Regions from separate parts of the Homo sapiens genome. Here region 1 is linked to region 2. The links are contacts of gene promoters, found by promoter capture Hi-C in human tissues and cell types (Jung and others, 2019). All regions are on one chromosome and are shown on one strand. Each heading gives the region's core, a stretch centred on a gene start or on the middle of the fragment in contact. The rest is flanking DNA. Distances are from core to core; before and after follow the strand shown.

What was found. Contacts are between HindIII fragments. The study calls those that stand out against the background at their distance.
Region 1: a contact is called between a fragment that was not itself captured here and the fragment with the promoter of IER5L in region 2, in 3 of the 25 tissues and cell types used here (IMR-90 fibroblasts, dorsolateral prefrontal cortex and spleen).

The regions. Positions count from the first base shown.
Region 1 is chr9:129,505,610-129,512,424 of GRCh38, reverse strand. All of the region lies in intron 3 of LOC124900275 (extensin-like), which reads right to left. All of the region lies in intron 4 of LINC00963 (long intergenic non-protein coding RNA 963), which reads right to left. Among named protein-coding and RNA genes, the nearest start is that of LINC00963, 20 kb to the right of the region's middle. The HindIII fragment of the contact is 8,439 bases long and covers 1-6,815 here.
Region 2 is chr9:129,173,243-129,180,399 of GRCh38, reverse strand. IER5L (immediate early response 5 like) reads left to right here and starts at 2,139. Exons shown (of 1, transcript NM_203434.3): 1 at 2,139-4,848. The coding sequence starts at 2,348. The coding sequence ends at 3,562. RefSeq lists enhancers at 331-1,254, 1,255-2,178, 1,916-2,210, 4,585-4,644, 4,574-5,295 and silencers at 1,935-2,314, 2,545-2,884, 3,835-3,984, 4,325-4,374, 4,948-5,047 and 1 more. The HindIII fragment of the contact is 19,795 bases long and covers 1-7,157 here.

The DNA of each region.
Region 1 (6,815 bases), core at 2,187-4,686, 330 kb before region 2:
AAGCACTGAGCACAGTGCCTGGCCCACACAGGAGGCTTCTTCAGTGAAAACTCTGAACATATTCTAATAAGAGTCCTGCTTTCCTTCACGCCTGTCTGTGAGCTCTGTGGGGAGGCCCCAGAGCTGAGCATTCATCTAATCAGCCTTTGTGGACCTCCAACGTCATGCCAGACAGATGGGGCCCTTATCACCTGGCAGTTGCATGTAGGTTATATGTCTACTTTTCAGGAACAGTGAAATGACCCCTCCTCCTGTGCCTCCTCCAAAGAGGAGTTGGAGAAGGAGCCAGGGCACAAAGAGACAGATTGTCAAAACCATGCCTATGCCGGGCATGGTGGCTCATGCCTGTAATCCTTGCACTTTGGGAGGCTGAGGCAGGCAGATCACTTGAGGTCAGGAGTTTGAGACCAGCCTAGCTAACATGATGAAACCCTATCTCTACTAAAAATACAAAAATTAGCTGGGCAAGGTGGCACGCACATGTAATCTCAGCTACTCAGGAGGCTGAGGCAGGAGAATCGCTTGAACCCAGGAGGTGGAGGTTGCAGGGAGACGAGATGGTGCCACTTCACTCCAGCCTAGGCGACAGAGCGAGGTTCCATCTCAAAAACAAAACACGACAAAACAAAACGAAAAACCATGCCTAGAGCTGAGACATCCTGAGGCTGGCTGGGGTCATCGGCTTGTGGTCAGTGTAGCCACCGCATGTTGGCCCACACCCTCCCCTTCCCTGGAAGCTGAGGCCAGAGGTCTGCCCATTAATCTCCCAGTGCCCCAGGGCTTCATGGGAAGCCCCTTTCCCCAGAGAAGCTCTTGTTCTCTAGCGTGGAAGCCCAGCTCCTTACTTATTCCTGGAGTCTAGCTCCCTCTAGTCAAGCCAGAGTACCCAGCTTTTGGTCAGGGGGCTGTACGTGTGGGGCAAAGGGCAAAGTGGTGTCCAGGACCTGGAGCAGGAAAAGCTTGCATTATGCTCTGTGTCAAGCCAGTGGGGGCTACAGGTCCTGGGTTACTACTTGCCAGTTGGTGGTTGTGTGGGCAAGGAAAGGGGGATCATGGGTGGGACCCTGAGAGGCACTTCTCATTCCCCTGTGAGAGGCCCCACATCTGGCCTCTCCAGACAGACTCCATGCTGGATAACAGTTGGGTTCAGAACTTTAAGGAACAAATTGCTGTTTCCAGCTCAGCTGTTCAGTCCATTGGGCTCCTCCTCTTCCAAATCCCCTATCACTAACCCTCCTGCCGCATGAGGGTAACCTCTACCCCTATTTCTAACACCATGGAGTAGTTTTGCCTGTTTTTGTCCTTTATATATGTGAACTATTTTGCACATTAAGGTTGTAGATTCATCTATATTGTTGTGTACGGTTTGTTTATTCTTAAAGCTGATCAATCATCCCCTGTATGAATGAATAGTCTATAATTTCTCTCTGTTCTAAAGCCGGAGGATATTCAGATTCTTTCCAGTTTAGGGCTATCCTGAATAGTGTTGGTGTGAATATTCCAGGTTATGTCTTTCTTTCTTCCTTTTTTTTTAATTGAGACAAGATCTTGCTCTGTCACCCAGGCTGGAGTGCAGTGGCGAGATCACAATTCACTGTAGCCTCCACCTTCCGGGTTCAATCAATCTGCATGCCTTGGCCTCCTGAGTAGCTGGGACTACAGGCATATACCATCATGCCTGGCTACTTTTTAGTAGAGACGAGGTTTTGCCTTGTTGCCTAGGCTGCTCTCGAACTTCTGGGCTCAAGCAATCCTCCCTCCTTGGCCTCCCGATGTGCTGGGATTACAGGCATGAACCACCTCACCTGGCACAGGTTACATCTTTTGATGAACACGTGGATGCATTTCTTTTGCCTGTATGCCCAGGAGTGGAAATGCTTGGTCAGAGGGCAGGGTGTGTTCAACACAATTAAACCTTACGGATGCTTTCGTGGTGGTTATACTAATTTAGATTCCCATCAGCAATGTCTGAGAGTTCTGGTTGCTCCATATCCTCATCAGCACTTGGTATTGCCAGTCTTTTTCACTTAAACTTCTCTGGTGTCTGAAGCGGTAGCTCACTGTGGTTTTGTATTCTCCTTGCTATTGTCCGAATGTTTGAGTTTCTCCCAAAAACTCATACGTTAAGACTTAATCGGCTGGGTGCAGTGGCTCATGCCTGTAATCCCAGCATTTTGGGAGGACGAAGTGGGCGGATCATGAGGTCAGGAGTTCGAGACCAGCCTGACCAACATGGTGAAACCCTGTCTCTACTAAAAATATGAAAATTAGCCGGGCATGGTGGCACACGCCTGTAATCCCAGCCACTTGGGAGGCTGAGACAGGATAATCACTTCAGCCCGGGAGGCAGAGGTTGCAGTGAACCAAGATTACGCCACTGCACTCCAGCCTAGGCAACAGAGTGAGAGTCCATCTCAACAACAACAACAACAAAAAGACCTAATCACCAAGGTGATGGTGTTAGAAGGTGTTAGAAGATGGGGATCTTTGAAAGGTGATTAGGTCATGAGGGCTCTATCCTTGTGAATTGGATAACTGCCCTTATAAAAGAGGCCCCAGAGAACTGTCTTCCCCCTTCCACCATGTGAGGATACAGCAAGAAGGTGCCATGTTTGAAGCAGGGAACGGGCTCAGGCACCGGATCTACTGCTGCCTTGATCTTGGACTTCCCAGCCTCCAGAACTGTGAGCAATAAATTCCGTTGTTTATAAATTTCCCAGTCTAAGGTATTTTGTTACAGTATCCTGAACTGACCAAGCCACCCCCATGAGTCATGAAGCTAGCAGCTTTTCGTGTATTTGTTGGCCTCCTAAGTACTCTTGTTATGAAGTACTTTAATGCAAGCCCTCCCCCATTTTTCTCTTGAATTGTCTGCCTTTTTCTTTTTGGTTTGTAGGAGTTCTTCATATATAGTGGGAAAAAATCATTTGGGATGTGTGTGTGTGCGCACACGCAAATGCATGCATGCACGTGTTTAAAAGGCCAATATTCTCTGTCCCACAAATTCAGAACACCACAGTGGTTGGGCCATAATTGCACTGTGGGTGGTGGCAGGGTTTCAGACAAAAGGCATAATAACATGTCACATAAAATTAATCTGATTTGAATCGATTTTGTACGTGATGGGTCAATTTGTCTTGGTCTGATGCTTGTATAAGAGCTACAAGGAGTTTATATCTCATTTTATGCTTGCACATGTTTAAGTAATACACAATAAAAATCATTTAAGGCAACAGTGAGGGCCCAGGAGATGCCCTTCTTCTCTAGGTAAGCAGGAGATTCTCAAAACACAAATCCAATCTGTGACTCCCCTGCTTAATGCATCTCAAAAGATCCTTTTTTTGTCTAGGATGGAGATGAGACTCCTTCCCCTGGTAGGCGGCCTCCTCGGACCTGCTCCCCTGCACTGTTCACTGAAGCCGCCGCCTCCTTCTGGGCATGGTCTCTCCATGTCTTCTCTCTCCACATAAGCCCCCAGCCCCTGTTTTGGAGCAGCTGCTGCCCTGACCACCCCTTTTGCTTAGACTTAGCTCAATCATCCCTTCTCTGGGAAGCTCCCACTGTGGCCTCTGAAACCACCATCCCAGCTGGGCACTTTGCTTCCTTTTTTTTTTTTTTTTTTGAGACAGAGTCTCGCTCTGTCGCCCAGGCTGGAGTGCAGTGGCGCCATCTCGGCTCACTGCAACCTGTGCTCCTGGGTTCACGCCATCCTCCTGCCTCAGCCTCCCGAGTAGCTGGAACTACAGACGCCCGCCACCACGCCCAGCTAATTTTTTTGTATTTTTAGTAGAGACAGGGTTTCACCGTGTTAGCCAGGATGGTCTCAATCTCCTGACCTCATGATCCGCCCGTCTCGGCCTCCCAAAGTGCTGGGATTACAGGCGTGAGCCACCACGTCCGGCCTTTGCTTCTTTGCATAATCTCAGCTGAGATTTATAATTTACTTGTGGGATTCTCCCCTCTCAAACTATAAGTTCTGTGAAGACAGAGATGGTATTTTTTTCTCCTCACTTTATTTATTTATTTGAGACAGAGTCTCACTATGTTGCCCAGGCTGGAGTGCAGAGGTGCAATCTCGGCCCACTGCACGCTCCACCTCCTGAGTTCAAGTGATTCTCCTGCTCAGCCTCCTGAGTAGCTGGGACTACAGATATGCACCACCATGCCTGGCTAATATTTGTATTTTTAGTAGAGACGGGGTTTTGCCATGTTGGCCAGGCTGGTCTCAAACTCCTGACCTCAGGTAATCCACCTGCCTCTGCCCCTCAAAGTGCTGGAATTACAGTCACGAGCCACTGCGCCCGGCCTTCTCCTCACCTTTTTCTCCAGTGTCCACTCCAGCATGCAGTATTTGATAAGCGCTCAGTAAATGTTTGTTGAATGACTTACTAACCTGAGCTTGTGTTAACTCTCTCACTGTATTGATTCTGAAAGGCAAAGAGGGCCCAAGGTCACATGTAGGGAAGGGCCAAAGGCAGGACTGGAGCCCAGCAATTCTTGTTCAACCACACGGAATGGGAAGTAAAGTCCTCTTTGGCCAGCAGCAGAGGGGCCAGGTCCCCCTTGTCATCAGCCTGGAAGACCCTAAAGGATCATCTAGGACAATTCTTTCATTCTTTGAATGGGGCATCTAAAACTGAAGAGTGGACAGGGATTGTCTAGAGTCATACGGTGAAGGTGATCCGGAAGTTCCGCTAGAGAACACAGCAGATTCTATCCTGTAGAAACACAATGGGTTCTACCCAGATTGCCTGACACTCAATATTCTTTTTTAATTAAACTAAATTAATTAACTACTTTTTGAGTGCAGTGTTGTGATCTCAGCTCACTGCAACCTCCACCTCTCAGGTTCAAACAATTCTCCTGCCTCAGCCTCCCGAGCTGCTGGGATTACAGGTGTGTGCCACCACGCCCAGCTAATTTTTGTATTTTTAGTAGAGTCAGGGTTTCGTCGCGTTGGCCAGGCTGGTCTTGAACTCTTGGCCTCAAGCAATCCACCTGCCTCAGCCTCCCAAAGGGCTGGGATTTCAGGCGTGAGCCACTGAGAGGGGCTCTGACACTCAACATTCTTTCCAGTATCCCCAACTCTCCTGGAGGTGAAGGACTAAGGGGGTGGGGGCATGGCTCTCAGACTCCAGACTGACAACCTAATATTGAGGCTGGGCTGGGAGTGGAACCGAGATTTCCCAGCCTGAGGCCAATGGATGACAAGGGCCTTTCTTGTTCTCCTCCAGAGCCTCTTCTGGAGCCCCACTAGGGAATTCCTGTCCTTGGAAAAGTGGGAGAGGACCAGAACATTCTGGAATAAAGACTGGAGACATTCAGAGTGACGCAAGAAGTACAGTCCACAGTGGAGGAAAACTCCAGCTGCCAGGCAATTGCCCGCTGGTCCCTGGCCTGGTCTAGGTGGTTGTGGGGGAAGGGGAGCTAACTGCAGTGACTCACTTAACCCTTTCCGGGCAGAGGAAGATAACGCTTTTTAATTGAAGAAATTTTTTAATTAAAAAACATTTTTTTGACGGCTTCTTGTTGAGCAGGGCTACCCCACAGGCCATGTGCCTAGAGTGGCCTTAATTGAAATTTTTGTTACAATCATTGTAGATTCCTGTACAGTTATAAGAAATAAAACAGCCGGGCGTGGTGGCTCATGCCTGTAATCCCAGCACTATGGGAGGCCGAGACGGGCGGATGACGAGGTCAGGAGATTGAGACCATCCTGGCTAACACGGTGAAGCCCCGCCTCTACTAAAAATACAAAAAATTAGACGGGCGAGGTGGCGGGCGCCTGTAGTCCCAGCTACTCGGGAGGCTGAGGCAGGAGAATGGTGTGAACCCAGGAGGCGGAGCTTGCAGTGAGCCAATATCGTGCCACTGCACTCCAGCCTGGGCGACAGAGCGTCTCCAAAAAAAAAAAAAAAAAAAGAAGAAATAAAACAGAGAGGCTGGGCACAGTGGCTCACGCGTGTAATCCCAGCACTTTGGGAGGCCGAGGCAGGTGGATCACCCAGCCTGGGCAACAAGAGGGAAACTTCATCTCAAAATAACAACAACAACAAAAAAGAAAACAGAGGGATCCCAGGTACCCGCCTTCACTCAGTTTCCCCAATGGTAACATCTCGCAGAACTACTGGGCGCCATCACAGCCGGGGTCTGACTGCTCTTGCTCAGGTTTCCCCGGTTTTCCGTATCCTCACGTGTGTGTATTTACTTCTGTGCAATTTTATCGCAGGCCAAGGCAGGCGGATCACCTGAGCTCAGGAGTTTGAGACCAGCCTGGGCAACATGGTGAAACCCTGTCTCTACAAAAAATACAAAAATTAGCCGGACACGGTGGCACGTGCCTGTAGCCCCAGCTCCTTGAGGGTCTGAGATGGGAGGATCACTTGAGCCCAGGAGGTGGAGGTTGCAGTGAGCCCATATTGCGCCACTGTACTCCAGCCTGGGTGACAGGGCGAGACCCTGTCTCAAAAACAAAAACAAATAAACAGAATGAGAGTATGCAACCTTTTGGGACTGGCTTTTCCCCTCAGCAGACACCACTTTTCTTGAGCACCTTGATCTCATAGTCCCAGGGACGGCTTCTGTTATTCCCATTTTACAGCTGAGCAAACTGCTCCCCAACGCCCAACCCCCAGAGCCAGCGCTCATGATGGCTAATTTGGGGAGCATCTCCTCCAGGAGAGGAGGGCAGGGGGTTGGGCGGAGGGCTGGGGCCAGAGCCTTCCCCAGCCCTGCTGAGACCCAGCTCCCTCTTCTGCAGCCTGTCTCAGAGCGGGGTCTCCTTTGTGCCTCCCACCCGCTCCCCAGGCCCGTCT
Region 2 (7,157 bases), core at 890-3,389:
CCCGCCACCACGCCCAGCTAATTTTTTGTGATTTTTAGTAGAGACAGGGTTTCACTGTGTTAGCCAGGAAGCTCTTGATCTCCTGACCTCGTGATCTGTCCGCCTCGGCCTCCCGAAGTGCTGGGATTACAGGCGTGAGCCACCGCGCCCGGCCATAAATAAAGTCTTTGTGTGCCTTTAAGACAGGCACCAGGGAAGTGAAGGGCAGTGTATTTTTACTTCTACGTGTTATCACCTGAGCAAGTTCCACAGCCTGTAGGTCTGTATCACCAATAAAATGTAGGTAGGACATCCTTTATCTGAAGTCCCCTGAAATTTCAATCCTGGCTTCTCTGGGAGGAGGCCTGGAGAGGTGCTATTGGTCACAGGGGCCCAAAGCGTTTGAGATTGTTCGAGGGGGCCAAGGGAAGGACACAGCACCAGCCCTGGGGCCATGTGATCTTGGGCAAGTCTCACGCTGTCAGTGTCCGAGTTTCCTCATCGGAAAAATGAAGTAAACACCCGCTAACTCTGTCTTCACTCTCAACGCCTGGCATGGAGTAGATGCTAAGAAACTTTTGCAGAAATCTTGGAAATTCTTAAGACTAAAGAAAGACCCAGAGACCACAGGGTGGGCTACTGGGTCTCTCCACTCCCACCAAGGGATGAAGTAGGTGCTGAGAACTCAGAAGGAAGCCCCAAAAAGCAGAGACTCAGAAGATCCCCTGAGGAGGCGGTGAAGCAGCAGGACGTCTGGTCATGGGCCTCCCCCCTGAGTCCAGCCCCACAAGGTCCACCTATCTCTGGGAGACTCTGCAGACCTCGTTCATCCTTCAGGGATCCACTCATGGACCCTCCTCAGGCAAACCTCCAGACCATTTCCAAGAGCCTCCAGAGCTGTCTGGGCAGCCCCCACCCCAGGCACCTTTGAAACCCCTGGGAGCAGCAACCAGCCCCCTTCAGGCCTCTTGGTCCAGATAGAGCGCCCCCAGGAATCAGCAATCCTGTCCCTCTCTTCTCCCACTGTCTCAGTCCCCAGCTGGGACCTGAAGGGTTCAGGATAAGAAGGAAAGCTGTGTCAACAGAAGTTAAGTCGGTGAGTCCCCGGGCCTTTGGTATTCACCTCCCGTCTCGAGCGCAGGGTCCTGTCCCAGCTCCTAGCTCCGCCCCCTGGGAACTGTGTGGTTCCCCAAGTCACTCCACTCCTCCGAGCCTCAGGCCCCTCCTCTACAAACGTTAGAGTGAGGCATTGGGGAGTTGCTGGGAAGGGCCTGCCCCATATTAGGCCCATAATAATAGTCCCTATTGTCATTATTATTAGTTAGGCACGAAAGGAAAGGTTACAGAGCTGGTGATTAGGGCACTCAGCGTTTCGGCTCCCAGGACGCTTTTGAGCCTCAGCTGGTCGCGAGGTCCACACACTCCCTGGGTCATGCCTGGCCTCGGAACTCTCTCCATCAGAGAAGGTCAAAATTCACGATGTTTTGGTTTTTCCTGTCAGACAAATGGGGAGGACTTCCCTTCCGCAAGCATTCCCAGAGGCCCCTCGACCAAAAAGTCAAGGAGTCAGGCCCTACATTCTCTGCGGTAGAGGGTACCCCCAAAACCTCGCTCCTTTGATGTTCCCCAGTGTCAAGCCGGCGGCTCCACCAGCCTCCTGTAGAGAGGCCTTGACTCCCGCGGGTCACTCGGGGGGGCGACAGGTGCGCAGGTGGAGGCGCCGCGCCGCTGGGGGAGCGATGAGCGGCGCGCACCTGCCGCAGGTGAGGCCCAGCCGTGCGGAAAGGGGAGGAGCCGTCGCCGCAGCACTCAGGTGAGCCGACCCCCGGCTCCCGGGACCTAAGGCGAGGGCAGCCGCGGGCTTCAACGTGGCCGCTGCCAGGCGACCTATGCTGCAGACTGCGGCCCCGGCGGCTCCGAGTCCCGCGCGGCGCGGCAGCCCCAGGAGAACATTCGAGGCAGCAGCGGCGTTGGAGGCCCGGGGTCCGTTCGGTATTTGAATAGCACAAAGGAACCGCCTTGGTCTGATTGGCCAGCCGAGTAGCCCCGGGGCGGGCTGCGCCTGTCACTCAGGAGACTCTCAGAGCTCCTATTGGCTCTTCTCATGTGGGGCGGGGCCCGGGCACCCGGCTAAATAGCTGGGGCCGGGGCCGGCCGAGACTCATTGCTTTGGCGCCGTCTGGGGAGCGCGAGCCCGCGGGTGGCGCGCGGCGCATGGTGGCGGCTCCTTTCGGAGCGCAGCCGAACCTCTGACCCGGACTCCGTTACCCCTGCCCGGCGCGCCCCGGCGGCCGGCTGGAGGCAGAAACAGCAGAAGCGTTAACAGCAGCAGCGGCGGCGGCTGCTCCGCCGCCGTCTCCGCGGGAGCATGGAGTGCGCCCTGGACGCCCAGAGCCTGATCAGCATCTCCCTGCGCAAGATCCACAGCTCCCGAACCCAGCGCGGCGGCATCAAGCTGCACAAGAACCTCCTGGTGTCCTACGTGCTCCGCAACGCGCGCCAGCTCTACCTGAGCGAGCGCTACGCCGAGCTCTACCGGCGCCAGCAGCAGCAGCAACAGCAGCAGCCGCCCCACCACCAGCACCAGCACCTAGCGTACGCGGCGCCGGGCATGCCGGCCAGCGCGGCCGACTTCGGCCCGCTCCAACTTGGCGGCGGCGGGGACGCGGAGGCGCGCGAGCCGGCCGCCCGGCACCAGCTGCACCAGCTCCACCAGCTCCACCAGCTGCACCTCCAGCAGCAGCTGCACCAGCACCAGCACCCGGCGCCCAGGGGCTGCGCGGCGGCGGCGGCGGCCGGAGCGCCCGCGGGCGGCGCGGGGGCGCTCTCGGAGCTGCCCGGGTGCGCCGCGCTCCAGCCGCCGCACGGCGCGCCCCACCGCGGGCAGCCCTTGGAGCCTCTGCAGCCGGGTCCTGCGCCGCTGCCGCTGCCGCTGCCGCCGCCCGCGCCCGCTGCGCTCTGCCCGCGGGACCCTCGCGCCCCGGCCGCCTGCTCCGCGCCCCCAGGGGCCGCCCCTCCGGCCGCCGCCGCTTCTCCGCCCGCCTCCCCGGCCCCCGCCTCCTCCCCCGGCTTCTACCGGGGCGCATACCCTACCCCTTCGGACTTCGGCTTGCACTGCAGCAGCCAGACCACCGTGCTGGACCTAGACACTCACGTGGTGACCACGGTGGAGAACGGCTACTTGCACCAGGACTGCTGCGCCTCCGCCCACTGCCCCTGCTGTGGCCAGGGCGCTCCGGGACCGGGCCTGGCGTCCGCCGCCGGCTGCAAGCGCAAGTATTACCCTGGCCAGGAGGAGGAGGAAGACGACGAGGAGGATGCGGGCGGGCTGGGGGCCGAGCCCCCCGGGGGCGCCCCGTTCGCCCCCTGCAAGCGCGCCCGCTTCGAGGACTTCTGCCCGGACTCGTCCCCGGACGCGTCCAACATCTCAAACTTGATCTCCATCTTTGGCTCCGGCTTCTCGGGGCTGGTGAGCCGACAGCCGGACTCCTCGGAGCAGCCGCCGCCGCTCAACGGGCAGCTGTGCGCCAAGCAGGCGCTCGCCAGCCTCGGCGCCTGGACTCGAGCCATTGTCGCCTTCTAGGGACCCCCGAGGGCACAGGGACCCGGGGCCCCGCGGGGCTGGGGCCAGACAAAGACTCGGCAAAGGGGCGAGAGGAGGGAACGAGCGGGCGCCGGGCCACTCGGGGCTGAGCTGGGGGCGAGCGGGGGCAGGCGGCTGATGTTTTATAAATTGTAAAATAAAAAAAAAAGAAATCTAAAATCTTGGACTTTATTTTTGCAGAGAGAAAAAGCGCCTATTTAAGTATGCTTTGTGTTTCTCCTACTCCTTTTTTTCTTTTTATTGTAGTGATTGCAGTGGTGTTTAGCGAGGAGCCTACCACGTGAGGGAGGGCTGCTGCCCGGAGGAGGTGCCGGGCAGCCGGGGGCGAGGCAGGGCGCCCTGGCCGCCGGGGCGCGCCGGGGGCGCAGCTCAGGAGGGCGCCGGACCTGGGAAGCCGATTCCAATCAGTTGTCAGACCCGGGAAGCCCGACGTTCCGCTCTCCCGAGTCCCTCTGTGGGGTGAGGAATGGGTCTTGTGAAATTCTGAGCAAAAACAAAGGCAAACTCTATCTCCGAAAGGGACGTTTGGGTCACATTTCCTCTCTGGGGGCGGACTCCAAAGTTCTCAAAATGAGAAGGCAGAAATGAAAACACTTCAACTTTTTTTTTCTTTTCTTCCCGGGGCGGGTGTCTTGAACCCCTCTTCTCCCCGCCCCTCTGGCTCCGTTCTCCTCCCCTCCTCCACCCGTCTCCCGGACTCGGGGGTGGCGCCTGACACCCCGACACTCTCGGACACTGGGTAAGGGGTGGGGGGCGGGCACGGCGGACTACATTTCCCATCATGCCTAGCACTGCGGTCCTCACTAAACAAAAAAGGAAGTCAATTCCTTCACCTGGATCCCCGGCGGCCCCGGGGGAGGGAGGGGCCGGGACCGCCGACTGCGTTGGAGACTTTGCACTAAGTTCCTGGTCAGCTGTGGTGTTTGTGTGTGTGCTTCTAAGTTGCACTGCCTTGGTTCAGCCTTCGGTTGCATTTCATGAAACCAGCATTGTTCGAGCCTGTGAGAACCCCGTCCTGTGTCTTCAGCTCGATAGATTTGTTTAATTTAAAAGCCTTTTGTTGTAAAAAGGTGGGGTTCGTCTGCAGCCCCTCTGGTTCTCTGCCATCAGCACCGTGTGGACTCCAAAACGAGTTGCCAATCCTTCCTTTCTCGGCCCTTTTCCCTCATTACCCTGTATTTTTGTGCATACTGAATTGTATATCACCGGGTAAAACTGTTCAGATTGTTTAAATTTATAATCTTAATAAAAAGTCGATTACAGAAGATGGTGGTGCCTTGTTTTCAGATGTCTGGGGGCGTCAGAGAGGATAGAGAGGTGTGGGGAGAGACCCCGCCCACCCCCATGTAAACCCCAGTTCTCTTCGGCCTGGGCGGGCGGGATCTACCCACATCCGCAAGGTCGGCGGTGGGAGAATGGGGGGTGATGTTGGTGGCTGGGGATGAAGCGGGTGCTGCGCGTCTCTCGGCCGCCCCCGCTCCAGGGGGGTCCTGTCCCCCACGGGAACTGGCCGCCCCGGGGTCTCCAGCGGGAAGCGGAGCCAGCCTCCAGCACATTTCCTGCCCAGGCACAGGCGCAGGGCCTGGTCGGCCTCGAGTCTGAGCTCTCTGTGGCCGGGGAAAGCAGCCGGGGGACGCCGGGGGTTTCAGGGCCACCCGCACTCCCTGCCCCGCGCCTCTGCCCCGCACGTCCGCATGTCTCGGGCTGCAACTTGGGGAAGTTTTTTCCTTTTCTTTTTCCCTTTTTTTTTTTTAAGTTGAGTTTGTTATCACTGCTCGGTGCCACTTGGTGGTGTGCTGGCGGCGTCTCCCTCCCTCCTCGCGCCCCTCCCCTCTCCCTCTCCTTCCCTCCCACCCGCCGCTCTTCCCTCCCCAGTGGATGGAGGGAGGAAGGCTCCCGGCGCGCGCTCCCCTCTGACCACCTACGGAATGACCTCAGAGTGGGAGAATGTGCCAAGGCCCGGGGGAAGCTCGCGTTCTCCCCACTGGAAACAAATCCACATCTGGAGCCGCGGCTTGGGCCCAGGGGCGCGCGGGATAGTTCCAGCTTTGCAAAGAGGGGTTAGGAAAGAAAGAACGAGAAAAAGAAAGCAAAGTGGCAGCCTGCTGGCTGTTTGCTGCCGACTCCCCACAGCTCCTCGCTCTCGCTGGCTCCCTCGCCCCCACACTGCCCTCGCCGGTGCGAGCCTCGCAGCCACCCCGCAGGACGGCTCGCGCCCCCCACCCCAGCCTTCGCGCCTCCCGCGGCGACAGGAGGGGCTGCCGCCAAGAGGCCCCCAAGCCAGACTCTGAGAGGCGGACGCAAGCCTGTCCCCGGGGACTGCTCCGCTCTGGATCCCGGTGTCACGCGAGGCGAAGTTCTCGGGGACACTCTCCAGAATGCGGGGGTCCGCGGAGGTCCGCGTTGGGGGTGGGGAAAAAGGAGGCTCTGGGGGCGTGAGTCGCGGGGAGGAAAGGCACCTTCACCCCCAGGGCTGCTTCATCGGCCTCCCACGGGAAGAGTCTGGAGCTGCCGAGGAGGGGGAACAGTGCGTTTCCTCCCTCCCCATTTTCCCCTGCAAGTCCAAGGAAATCGCGGTTGGCTGCACGGTTTTGCTTCAATCCACGAAGCCAGTTGCCAGAGCTCCCCCTAGCGCCGCTTCGGGCGCGCTGCAGTGGCTGGGGCTGAGAGTGGGCGAGGCTCGGCGGAGGCGGCGGGGCTGTCGGGGGCCGCTTCGCGTCCACCCGGGGAGCTGCGTGGAGTCTGCATCTCGCCCTTGCCTGAGCTGGGTCCCGGGGCCGCGTGCGTCCCCACTCCAGGCCCACGTCGAGGAGGGGCACGTGGTCGGCCCCCTTTGTTGGGAGCTGGGCACTGGAAGGGACCGGCCAAAGGGCTTGGGAATTCCCCACCCGCCCCAGGGATCCCTGTGGTAAAGGAGAGTGGATGGTGGGGTGCGAAATAAGATCTCTGAACTCAGCAGGACCCCAGACGAGGGCTCCCCTCCCCTCTGCCGGGTGATCTGAGCCTAAGCCGCACACTGGAATCTAGCAATGCCAAGGGATGGGATGGGGCGCTCTGGGAGCACCCTAAAGAGAGGTGCCCTTCCCCTTCCCTTATCTTCTCGGGGCCCAAGGACCTGGGCAGCCCCACAAAGGGTTAGTGCCCTGAGTATAATTCCCCTTGACCCAAAACGCAACCCACTGGCAATCTACCCGTCTCACCAAGACATTCCACACAAAACTGTAACAGGCTGCACAGCCTTGATTCTACACTACACCCCACACTGAGGGCCACACCCAGCCACACACTGTCTCCAACACTTGCTCCTAAGCTGCATCTTCACCCCACTCACAATCCCTGGGGCCACTGGCGCAGCAGGAAACATACCAGCCTAGAACATCCAGAGAGACCGATGTTCCCGTGCATAGCACAAGTGAGAGGCTGGGTCCGGGAGGCGGGTGGATGGGGTTGCCTGGCCATGGGGGTCGTCTGAAAGGGGGATGGGGTCAGGCGGGCAGGCAAACCAGGAGTCCATTTCAGCTCCACAGACAAGCCTCTCTCCCTCCAGTAAAAAGACCAGTGGAGCCCCCAGACA